Linked DNA regions of Homo sapiens: region 1 is linked to region 2. Evidence: promoter capture Hi-C in 16 types of primary human blood cells and fetal thymus (Javierre and others, 2016). All regions are on one chromosome and are shown on one strand. Each heading gives the region's core, a stretch centred on a gene start or on the middle of the fragment in contact. The rest is flanking DNA. Distances are from core to core; before and after follow the strand shown.

Region 1 (5,038 bases), core at 2,244-4,743, 34 kb before region 2:
CTGGGATTACAGGTGTGAACCACCACGCCCAGCAAGAAAACCTAAATCTAAAAACCCAGGAAGCTTCAACACAGACTTGTTATTTACACACAGAGCAAATGCCAACACGATTAGCATGAGAGGTGGAAGCAGCTGCCTCTCTGCCTCTAGGGGAAGAGGAGAGTGCAGGAGGGCAGGAGTGCAGGGAGTATTGGGAGCTTTTATGAACTATTTGAGCCTTCAAACCACGTTCACATCTATGCTTGGTAGAAATAAAAATGTAAGGATTACTAACACAAATGAAGAGAGCACATTGGAGGCAGAGGAATGGGCAGAGCTGTGGGCTGACTCTTTCAAGGAGTCGGGCTGGGCAGGGGACAAGAGGAGCGGGATTGGTGGTTTTCTTGGGTCTGGTGTGATTTGGGTGTTGTGAGATTTTCGCATTTTCATTTTTGCTTATGTATTCATCTGGTTTTGGGTGTGTTGGTGGTGCTGTTGTCTTGAAGGATGCTGAGATTGGACTGGATGCCGTGGGGGCGACCCCGAAGGGAGCAGAACAGCCACTGAAGATGGGGGAGACAGCTGTGTTGGAAGGAGGCCCGAGTCTGGCAGTGGGGGTGGATGTGACTGGGAGGATGGAGGTGGGTTTGTAGAGAGGGAGGGATGGGCAGGAAGAAGGGGTCCAGGAAGGGTCCCTTCCTCTAATAGGGAAGCTTCTTTTTTTTTTTTAACTAAAAAATTTCTATTTTTAGAAGTAGGAGGTGAAGTTACTCCTTGTGCCAAAGGAGTGACCAATAGGGGCTTGAGGATTGAGTGAGTTCCACAGGATGCTTCAGTCGCTGACTGAGGCCCTGCTTGGGTAGGAGGCAAGGGTGCACCGATTCTGTGAAGACACAGACTGTTCTCAGCACCCCGGGTAGGAGGGCAGGAAGGGAGAGGGCTGTGTCTCCGTGGCTGGGGAGGAAGGAAGGCTCCCTGGCACCCACTGTCTGGGCAGGTGGCTGGACCACGGCTTTGCACCTCACAAGGGTCTGTGTGTGGATGTGGAGGCCCCACGGAGCCAAGGCCGCACACCAGAACCACAGCTGTCAGTGTGCTGGTGCCCAAGGAAGGGGCGCTTTCATCCATGCCTGTCCCTTGCACCTCTCTCTGTCCCCAACCACTCGCTGCAGACCTCAGATGGCCTCTGCAGCCTGTTCTCTCTCACAGTTGTCTGGGAATTAACTCGACTGGAGCTTGCTTGAGTCTGCTGGGGCTTGCTTACAGCTCCTCAAACACTGGGTGGAGGGGCTGCTCCTCTGGGTTTGTCCTCTCACCCCTGCGGGAAGCACATGCTCAGCAAGACAGGCTTCAGAGCAGGAAGGAGTGAACAGACCTGAACAGCCAGCCTCTTCCCAAACCTGGACCCTATGTCAGGACCAGGCCACTGTTGGGGCCAGGGGACCTGCCTGTCTGGACTGGGAAATGCTTGCATTCTATTCCCCTGAAACAATACAGAAAGCAAAACAGGATCAGGCAACTGTCTTCTTTACTAAAGTCTCATCTGAGTCCTGTTAGGTCAAAAGATAGCACCATTCCTGTTTGGGGTGTAAAGTAAACACTTTTTTTTCTTTTTTGTTTGGAGACAGGATCTTGCTCTGTTGCCCAGGCTGGAGTGCAGTGGCCCAATCATAGCTCACTGCAGTCTCAACCTTCTGGCCTCAGGAGATCCTCCCACCTCAGCCTCCTGAATAGCTGGAAACACAGATGCACACCACCATGCTCAGATAATTAATTTTTTTTTTGTAGAAGCAGGGTCTCCCTGTGTTGCCCAGGCTGGTCTCAAACTCCTAACCTCAAGCGAAGCTCCCACCAAAGTACTGGGATTACAGGCAAGAGCCACTGCACCCCACCAGTAAGTTTTACTGTAAAACATTAGTTTTTTCTTTCCAAATCCCCAAATACTCCCCATTCTGGTGCCCCATGCACCAGAGGTTCCCTGGCCAAAGTGCAGGCATCGTTGGGAACAATAGCCCTTTTAAGCCTCAGAGGGAAGCCGGGACAGCGGAGAGCGTGCATCCAGCGCAGTCTGCGTACAGGGCTAGGGTGGGAAGAGTGCTCAAGGGAAGACAGACTCACAGGGAGACAGGGAACACTGAGGATGCAGAAGTCTACGTGATGCCTCTGCCTGGCTTCATCTGTGTGTGGCATTAGCCAGGCACGATTCAGCCTCAGAGAACCTGCTTCCTCATCTGCATGGTGGAAATGATCGTAGCATCTCCCTAGGAGGATTGTCTTGAGGTGACAGTGGAGAACACGTGCGGAGCTCTTAGTTCCACTTATATGGAGAATGCACACCGGCCGCTGTGGGGCCTCATGTTTGATACAGGAGGTAACGACATTCAGCAGATGGAGCGAGTGGGATGGGGCACGAGACTGACCATGTGGCCAGCTTTCTCTGTCCCTCCTTAACCTCTTTCTACCCACCTTCCTGCCAAGTGAGGCCAGAAACCCTGCCCCTTCCATTCCAGCAGGGACAGTGCCAGTGTCCGAGAGTGTACTCTGTGGGGACAGCCACCAGAGAACTGGGTATCTTTAGCCTTCGCCTGTCAGCACCAGAGCCAGAAAACTGCCCACCTCAGAAAGTAGGGTGAAGGGCAGGGCAGGCCCTATCCCAGCATCTGGCCACCCAGGCTGGCTTGGCTGGGCACACCATCTCGGTGCACATTCCTGTCATTGTTTGTCCAAGATGGGGCACGGGCCTAGATTGGAGGCCCCAGCCCCGATTGTAGAAGTGAGTAGTCCATGAAAATATGCTGTCCTTCCACCTGCACTTCCCCTGCGGGCCACCGTCTCCTGGCTTGGTGGCAGGGATGAACCATGGGTGGGGCCCTCAGGGTCAATTCTCTTCCTCTTCCCTCGGCCAACAGCTGTCCTGGGGGGCTGCGTGGGGCCTCTCAGTCCTCCTAGCCTGTTGAGGGTGGCTATGGGTGAGCATCAGCTGAGACCCAGCCATGGTGTCTGGGAGGCAGTGGAGTATCGGGAGTGGGGTCTGGAGGGTGGGGGCTTGCAGGCTTAAGGACAGCAGGTGGGGTGTGGGGAGCCAGGATGCCCAGAAGCAGGAGTGGGACAGGTGTAGCGCCCTGGAGGAGGGAGTATGTGAGCTGGGCAGGGTTTAAGCCAGTGGATTACATCCTCATCACCACCATCGTGCCACCTAACACCCATGGTACAACACACCTGGACTGTGCTGGGTGATGGGTGCATGATGTGAGGGGCAGCCGTGCCCCTCATTCCAGCCACCGGTGGAGGTCTGTCCTGCATGATCCACAGGTGTCACCAGCTCTCACCCTAGAAAGTGGAGGCCACGGGGCCAGACTCCCAGTGGGCAATAGACCTGGAAGTTGCCTTCAGTGAGCCTCCCCAGCCCCTTTTTGCCCCCTTGCCCTGTCTTTATCGTGGGTTACTCCTTGCTCTCACCAGCCCCCGTCTCTCCCTCTGCCTCAGTGTGGGAAGCAGTGAGGTACCATAGGAGAGGTGGGCAGCAGGGGCTCACAGGGGAGGGAGCCTGGGAGGCGGGGCCGAGGCCACCCTGGCGCTGACTTGTCTGGTGCCCTGGGCCAGACTCCCACCCTCCTGGGACCTGGGCTCTTCATCTGTAAATTCCTGGGCTTCTCCCGGTGCTGCTGTGCCGGTGGCTGAGGCTTCTCTGGCTTGGCTGCTCATGCCCTGGGCGAGGGAGAGAAGAGGCCCGCCCAGTGACTGTGACCCTCTCAGGCCCTCTGGGAGCTCCTCCCTCAGTGTCAGGGGCTGTGGCAGGAATGGCCTCTCCCCAAAGCACTGGAGCTTGGTTTCCTAAGTGGGACTGTTTTAAACTATGTCATGGCTGATTAAACGTTCAGTTCTATGGGAAAAAGCAAAAGTACCAGCCCAAGTTCATGACAGAATGCCAACAACATGGTTAATGAATAAGCATAATGTGAATAGCCATCGTCTGCCCAGGCTGGAAAGTTCAGGATCATTCTAGACCTTCTTTTTCTTCATTCCCACAATGATAACAGCGGCCGGTACTTCCTGAGATGTCCTTGGTCCCAGGGACTTATCTGAACCGAGTCCTCAAATCCTCCCAGCTGCCTGTGAGGCAGAATTAATATTCCCATTCTGCAGACAGGAAGCTGAGGCTGAGAGGGACCACACACTTGGGCTGGCTCAGGGATCCATGCCCTCGGCCACTCCCTTTGGCTGCTCTCAGCTCACCAAGATCTGGCCACATCTCTCCTATCTCCCTGGTCCAGCCTGCCCGCTCACACCCACAGCATCTCTCGGCTGGATGGCTGCCACTGCCCAAGAGATACCCCCACAGGGCTTGCCCCTTGGGTGAAAGCCAAGCTCAGCTCTGCCTCCAGGACCAGCCCAGGCCCTCGTAACCTCCTAAGACACCCCCTCACCCCCCAGCCTTCGACACACACCTGGCCCAGATCACCCTTGCTCTGCCCAGGGAAGCCCTTTCCGACTTCTTTGTATGGCAAAGTCTCCCTCATCTCAGACATCCCTCCGCAGCAGGTTGGGCTCCTGGCTAGGTTTTCCTGACACTCCTCAAGTGCCATTTGGAGTTTTCAGTATTGGTAAAGTCAGCATTGTGAGTATGAAGGACATCTTAGCATGTGCCCCCTGCTCCCAGAGAGACAAGGACCCTGTCACAGTGAGACATGAAGCATGACGGTTAGCCTCAGGGGCCCGGGAGCCACTCTGCTGGAATCAGGATCCATGCCTACTTGCTGTGTGACCTTGGGTAAGTCACTTAACCTCTCTGTGCCTCAGAGTCCTCATCTAAATTGTATCTACCACATAAGGTCGTCACAGGATTAAGTGAAGAAGTAAAGCACTTCAAGCAGCACCTGGCACCCAGCGGCGCTGGGAAGTCATCTCACGCCGTATGTCATGGGTGCCTGCCTCCAGCTGAAGGAAGTCCTGGCAGCCGAGCACCCCGTGTGAATCCAACCTCTCTGGTACCCTCTAGAGAGCCTGGCAGTGTGATGATCTCGTTACCTGTGAAGGAAGAGAGCAGCCACAGCTAGGA
Region 2 (4,802 bases), core at 2,094-4,593:
ATTCACATATCATCAAACCAATCATTTTAAGTTGACAGTTCAGTGGCATTTAGTACATTCATGGTGTTGTGCACCCACCAACTCAATCTAATTCCAAAGCATTTTCATTACCCCCAAAAAGAAACCACATAGCGATTAAACAATTGCTCCCCTTGGTCCCTGGCAAACCACCAGGGTTTGTGTTCTGTCTCTATGGATTTATCTATTCCAGTATTTTATATAAACGGAATCATACACTATATGACATTTTGTGCCTTGTGTCTTTTGCTTAGCATAGAGTTTTCAAGGTTTATCAACTTTGTAGCACGTATCAGTACTTCATTCCTTTCTATGGTCAGGTAGTATCCATTGTTTGGATATGTCGCACTTTGTTATTCAGTTCATTGCTGATGGCCACTGGGCTGTGTGTTATTGTGAAGACTGCTGCTATGAACATGCATGTGCCAATACTAAAGTCCCTGCTTGGAATCCTTTGGTTATATACCCAGGAGTGGAATTGCTGGGTCAGAGGGTAATTTTTTGAGGGAACACCAAACTGTTTTCCACAGTGGCTGAACCATTTCACATTCCCGCCAGTGGCATACCAAGGGTTCCAATTTCTCCACATCCAATACTTGATGTTTTCCGTTTTTTGGATAGTAGCCATCCTAATGGGTGTGAAGTGGTATCTCATTGTGATTTCTTTCTTTCTATTTATTTAATTTATTTACTTATTAATTTATTTTTTTGAGACCGAGTCTCACTCTGTTGCCCAGGCTGGAGTGCAGCGGCATGATCTCGGCTTACTGCAACCTCTGCCTCCCAGGTTCAAGCGATGCTCATGCCTTAGCCTGCTGAGTAGCTGGGACTACAGGCATGAGCCACCCAAGCCGGGTTTTTTTTTTTTTTTTTTTTTTTTGTATTTTTAGTAGAGATGGGGTTTCACCATGTTGGTCAGTCTGGTCTCGAACTCCTGACCTCAGGTGATCCACCCACCTCAGCCTCCCAAAGTGCTGGGATTACAGGCGTGAGTCACCGCAACTGGCCTCATTGTGGTTTCAATTTAGTTTTCCTAATGCCTGATGATGTTAAGCATCTTTTTATGTGCATATTGGCCATTTGTGTATCTTCTTTGTAGAAACCTCTGTTCAAGTCCATTGTCCATTTTCTAATTGGGTTGTCTTTTTGTTGTCGAGTTGTAATATTCCATAATTAAAAAAACCTCTCGAGTAGCTGGGAGGCTGAGGCAGGAGAATGGCGTGAACCCGGGAGGCGGAGCCTGCAGTGAGCCAAGATCGCGCCACTGCACTCCAGCCTGGGCGACAGAGCGAGACTCCGTCTCAAAAGCAAAAACAAAAACAAAAACAAAAACTCTCCCGGGGTGGCCAGCGCCTTCTCAGGCCCTTTAATTCTCCACTCCTTCCACACATCAAATATATACAGCTTCGTATTTACAGTCCATGCAGAGGAGAACTGAGAGGCTTGGGGTCAGCTTTCTCCTCTTCTCTCCCAGGCACCTGCGAGCCCACCCCTAATCTAGAGCATGTGGAAGATGCCTGGAGATGACTATGCATTGCGGGTCTCCTGGGAAGTGAGGAAGGGAGGTGGGGAACAGGGGTGAGGTGGAGAAGTGACTTTCTAAGTCAGCTGAGAGAAGCGTTCTGGGCGAGGGGGAGTTGTTTCTTCTGGAAGCCCCGCTACCGGCAGGCCACAAAGCCACGCTGGAAGAGCAAGCTGCCAGTAGTAGATGGTTCCAAGGTTTCCCACGCCCCTGTAATTTCTGCAGCATTGGCGGGTTGGGTGGGAGTCTCCGGTCACCTTTCCCGCAGATCAGATCGCCCCGTCTAACTGGACTGTTCCTACTCTCAGGGGCACTCCTTCTTGTATGCTGAACTTCTAAAAGGAGGCCAGCGGGGGGCTGGCTCTCTGTAAACGGTGGGGCTGCGTTCATTGGCGTCCAGGGTTTCTTCTAAATGTAACTGCTTTGATTCCGCCTATCCCTAGGATTTCAAGTCACCGGTTCCACCCAGGTTTGGGTTCGACTGGACTTTCACCCTAAGTTCAATGGTAGCCCTGCTCCCAGGCCGCCGCAGCCCTCTTAGCCTCTGCCCGCAAGCCCTCTTTGGATGAACTGACCTGCTCCCTTTGGTATTCACACCCTCCCCCTCCAATCAGGCAATAACAACCTGGGGTCCAATTTTTAAACAGCCAGGCTCCGACATTTTCTTTCCCGCCCAACTCTCCACGCTGACACTTCTGAGGGTGGGGTGCCGGAAAAGGTGTCCCTCAGGCGGTGACGGACCGCACCCACAGGACATACAGGGCACACCCCTCCCAGGTGAAGGCCAGCGGCCCCCGGGGAGTTGAGGCTGAGGGAGGTCACTTCGGCTTCGCGACACCGTGAGCGCTTATCAGGAGTTCTCAGTAGGAAGCGCTTTCCTGCAGCCTCAGGCAGAGACCGTGCGTGCAAGGCGGGACCGACCGCAGGTGCAGAGGCCCCGGGCCTGCCCAAGGTCAGTCGAGGCGCGCGGATCGCTCTCGCCGCCACCCCCCACCCCCCACCCCCCATCTCCTCCACCCCCACCCCGCACACGGGGCAGAAGGACTGCGGCCAAGCAAACGATGGCCTCATTTCCAGATCGAATTGGTCGCAAATACGTTCCCTCGCCAGAAACTTTAAAAGGCCAGAAGAAAATAAACCGGATTCAGCTCCCTCTCATCTCCAAATCTCGGTTGGTAATACTAATGTTTCTCTTGCTGATTTTTTTTTCTTTTTTAACGAAACCTTCTCCCTTGTAAAAGCTGCGCACTTCTACCCAACCGCGCAAAGCGCGGCGGGAGCTTCGGTGGCGCTGCGCGCGTCAAGTGGGCCCCGCGCGCAGCTTTGGGACCAGCGAACCAAGAGCCGTCCCCCCCTGCCCCGCTGCCTACATCTGACCCCAGTTGGGAACCCAGTTTTTCCTCCATAGTCCTGTAGACTGTTCCCCTCATTCTGTTGGTCTAGAAGGGCACAAAGGACCGGAGGTGGGAGGGGACTTCCCTGGCTTAGTCCCCGCCCTGCGCCTGCTGCCCCGATGCTCCCAGAACCTGCGCAGCTAGCGGATCCCGTCCGACAGCTGTGCTGGGCGCCCGAGAGAGCGCACGGCTCAGCCCACCCCGTCCCTTCCCCGGCCAGGAGCCACTCACAAACTCAAAGATGAAGAGCAAGTCGGGCAAGGTGGTGAAGACCGAGAAGCCACTGGGCAGGGTGCTGCCCCCCGTCGCCGCTGCGGGGGCCATGACGGCGTGCTGGCGTCGGCCTTGGGACGGGACGAGCGCCGCTCAGACTCCGCGCAGACCTCTCGCTGGCTCCGCGGAGCCCAGTGGCCTGGGCGCCCCCGCGCGCGGGTTAAGAGCAGGGGAGCCCGGGGCAGAAGAGGGAGGAGCCCCGGCCGCCGCCCAACCCCGCCCCCCGCCCCACGCCCCGGGAGACCCGGCCCGAGCGCCGCGGGCACCGCCCTGAACCTCTTCGAGGCCCCGCTGCGGGCGTCCAGAGCTGGGGACTGTGGGTCTGACTCCTGCGTTCCAGCCGTGGGTGCCACCTCTTGCGGGAAGCAGGGCAAAACCACTTTGGTCAGGCGCTCCTCGTGCCTTTCTCCCTTCGTAGGTGACCAGCATCTCGTAAGAATGATAACCATCAGTAACCGGGACCCCAAACCTTCTCATCAAGGCACCTCTCGGGTCACCATTACTTTAACTTTGAATTTGGGTCTCCTTCATTTTTCCGCTGGATGCGTTAATGTGCGCGACCCACAGCTCCAGGCGGCGGTTTCCTGGCGGAACTGGACCACCGCCACAGGCTGGGGGTCTGCAGTGGGGGATGGGACCGGCCGCGGCCGCCGGCCCCTTCCGCGTCCACTGAGCCGGCGCTGGTTCGGCGCTGGGATCCTGCACCGGGCCTCTCTGCTTGGTGCTGCGCGTCTGCCTGAGAGTAGGAGGTTGCTCCCAGCTGTGCCGGCCCCAGCAGAAGGCTGCTGGTGGTGGTGCTGGGGCAGGTCGGCCTTGAATCCATGCGACAGGAAGGGACGTTACCAGAAGAGATTCATCGCTTTCTCTTGGTCTGGGCAGCCCGGGCCTTTTGAGGGTGGGACCGCTGCTACCCCCACCCCCAGGTTCTTTGCCTGCCTGTTGACTGCCGGTGTTTCATGTTTTGTTTCTCTGTTTCACTATTTTTTATTTTTTGCCTTAAAAAAAAAAGTATTACCATGCAGCAGTTGCCCATTTATTTTAATTTACTATTAATAGTGTGATTGCTGTGTTTCCTCCTACAAACACTGAAGCCTGAAATCCGCCCGAGTCCGGATTCTCGCCTGCCAAAAGGGAATTGGCCCCGCAACCTCCAGCTTAGACTCCCAACTCTTCTTTCTTTCCATTGGCAGCTGCTGCAGGCAGGACAAGGGGCTCCCCTTCTCTCCAGTGGGGCCTTCACCTCTCCCTGCTGCACAATTCTTCCTCCTTCCCAGTCCCTAGGGAGAGAAGTATATTCGTGGACGCATTTTCCAAAGCAAAAGTAGCACGCCCATCAGCTGGCCATTCTAAGTGCCTCTGGAAAGGGGCCAGGCATTTGAAATGAGAAAACCCCACTGTGCCTCTGTGAGCTGCCAGCCCGGACGGCTGCAACCAAGGTGCCATTGTGTCGGGTCCCCAGGGCAGCATCTCTCTGGACACAATGGGCTGTGGGACTTTAGGAGCCCAGGTCCTCATCCACCTTGGGCATCTCATAGCTCGTTAGTTGGACCTGCTGGCCTCTGAGAGGACATCTTCTTCCTCCCCAGGAGACCGTC

Evidence for each region. Contacts are between HindIII fragments. The CHiCAGO score rates a contact against its expected background, and 5 or more counts as called.
Region 1: a contact is called between a fragment that was not itself captured here and the fragment with the promoter of MAL in region 2, in 1 of 17 cell types (fetal thymus). The highest score is 5.8, in fetal thymus.

What each region holds. Positions count from the first base shown.
Region 1 is chr2:95,057,938-95,062,975 of GRCh38, reverse strand. No RefSeq gene overlaps it. Among named protein-coding and RNA genes, the nearest start is that of MAL-AS1, 33 kb to the right of the region's middle. RefSeq lists an enhancer at 1-89. The HindIII fragment of the contact is 5,597 bases long and covers 695-5,038 here.
Region 2 is chr2:95,024,249-95,029,050 of GRCh38, reverse strand. MAL (mal, T cell differentiation protein (MAL blood group)) reads right to left here and starts at 3,343. Exons shown (of 4, transcript NM_002371.4): 1 at 3,166-3,343. The coding sequence starts at 3,258. MAL-AS1 (MAL antisense RNA 1) reads left to right here and starts at 2,022. Exons shown (of 8, transcript XR_007087136.1): 1 at 2,022-2,492; 2 at 2,618-2,711; 3 at 4,794-4,802. RefSeq lists an enhancer at 2,236-2,959 and a silencer at 3,314-3,443. The HindIII fragment of the contact is 7,953 bases long and covers 1-4,802 here.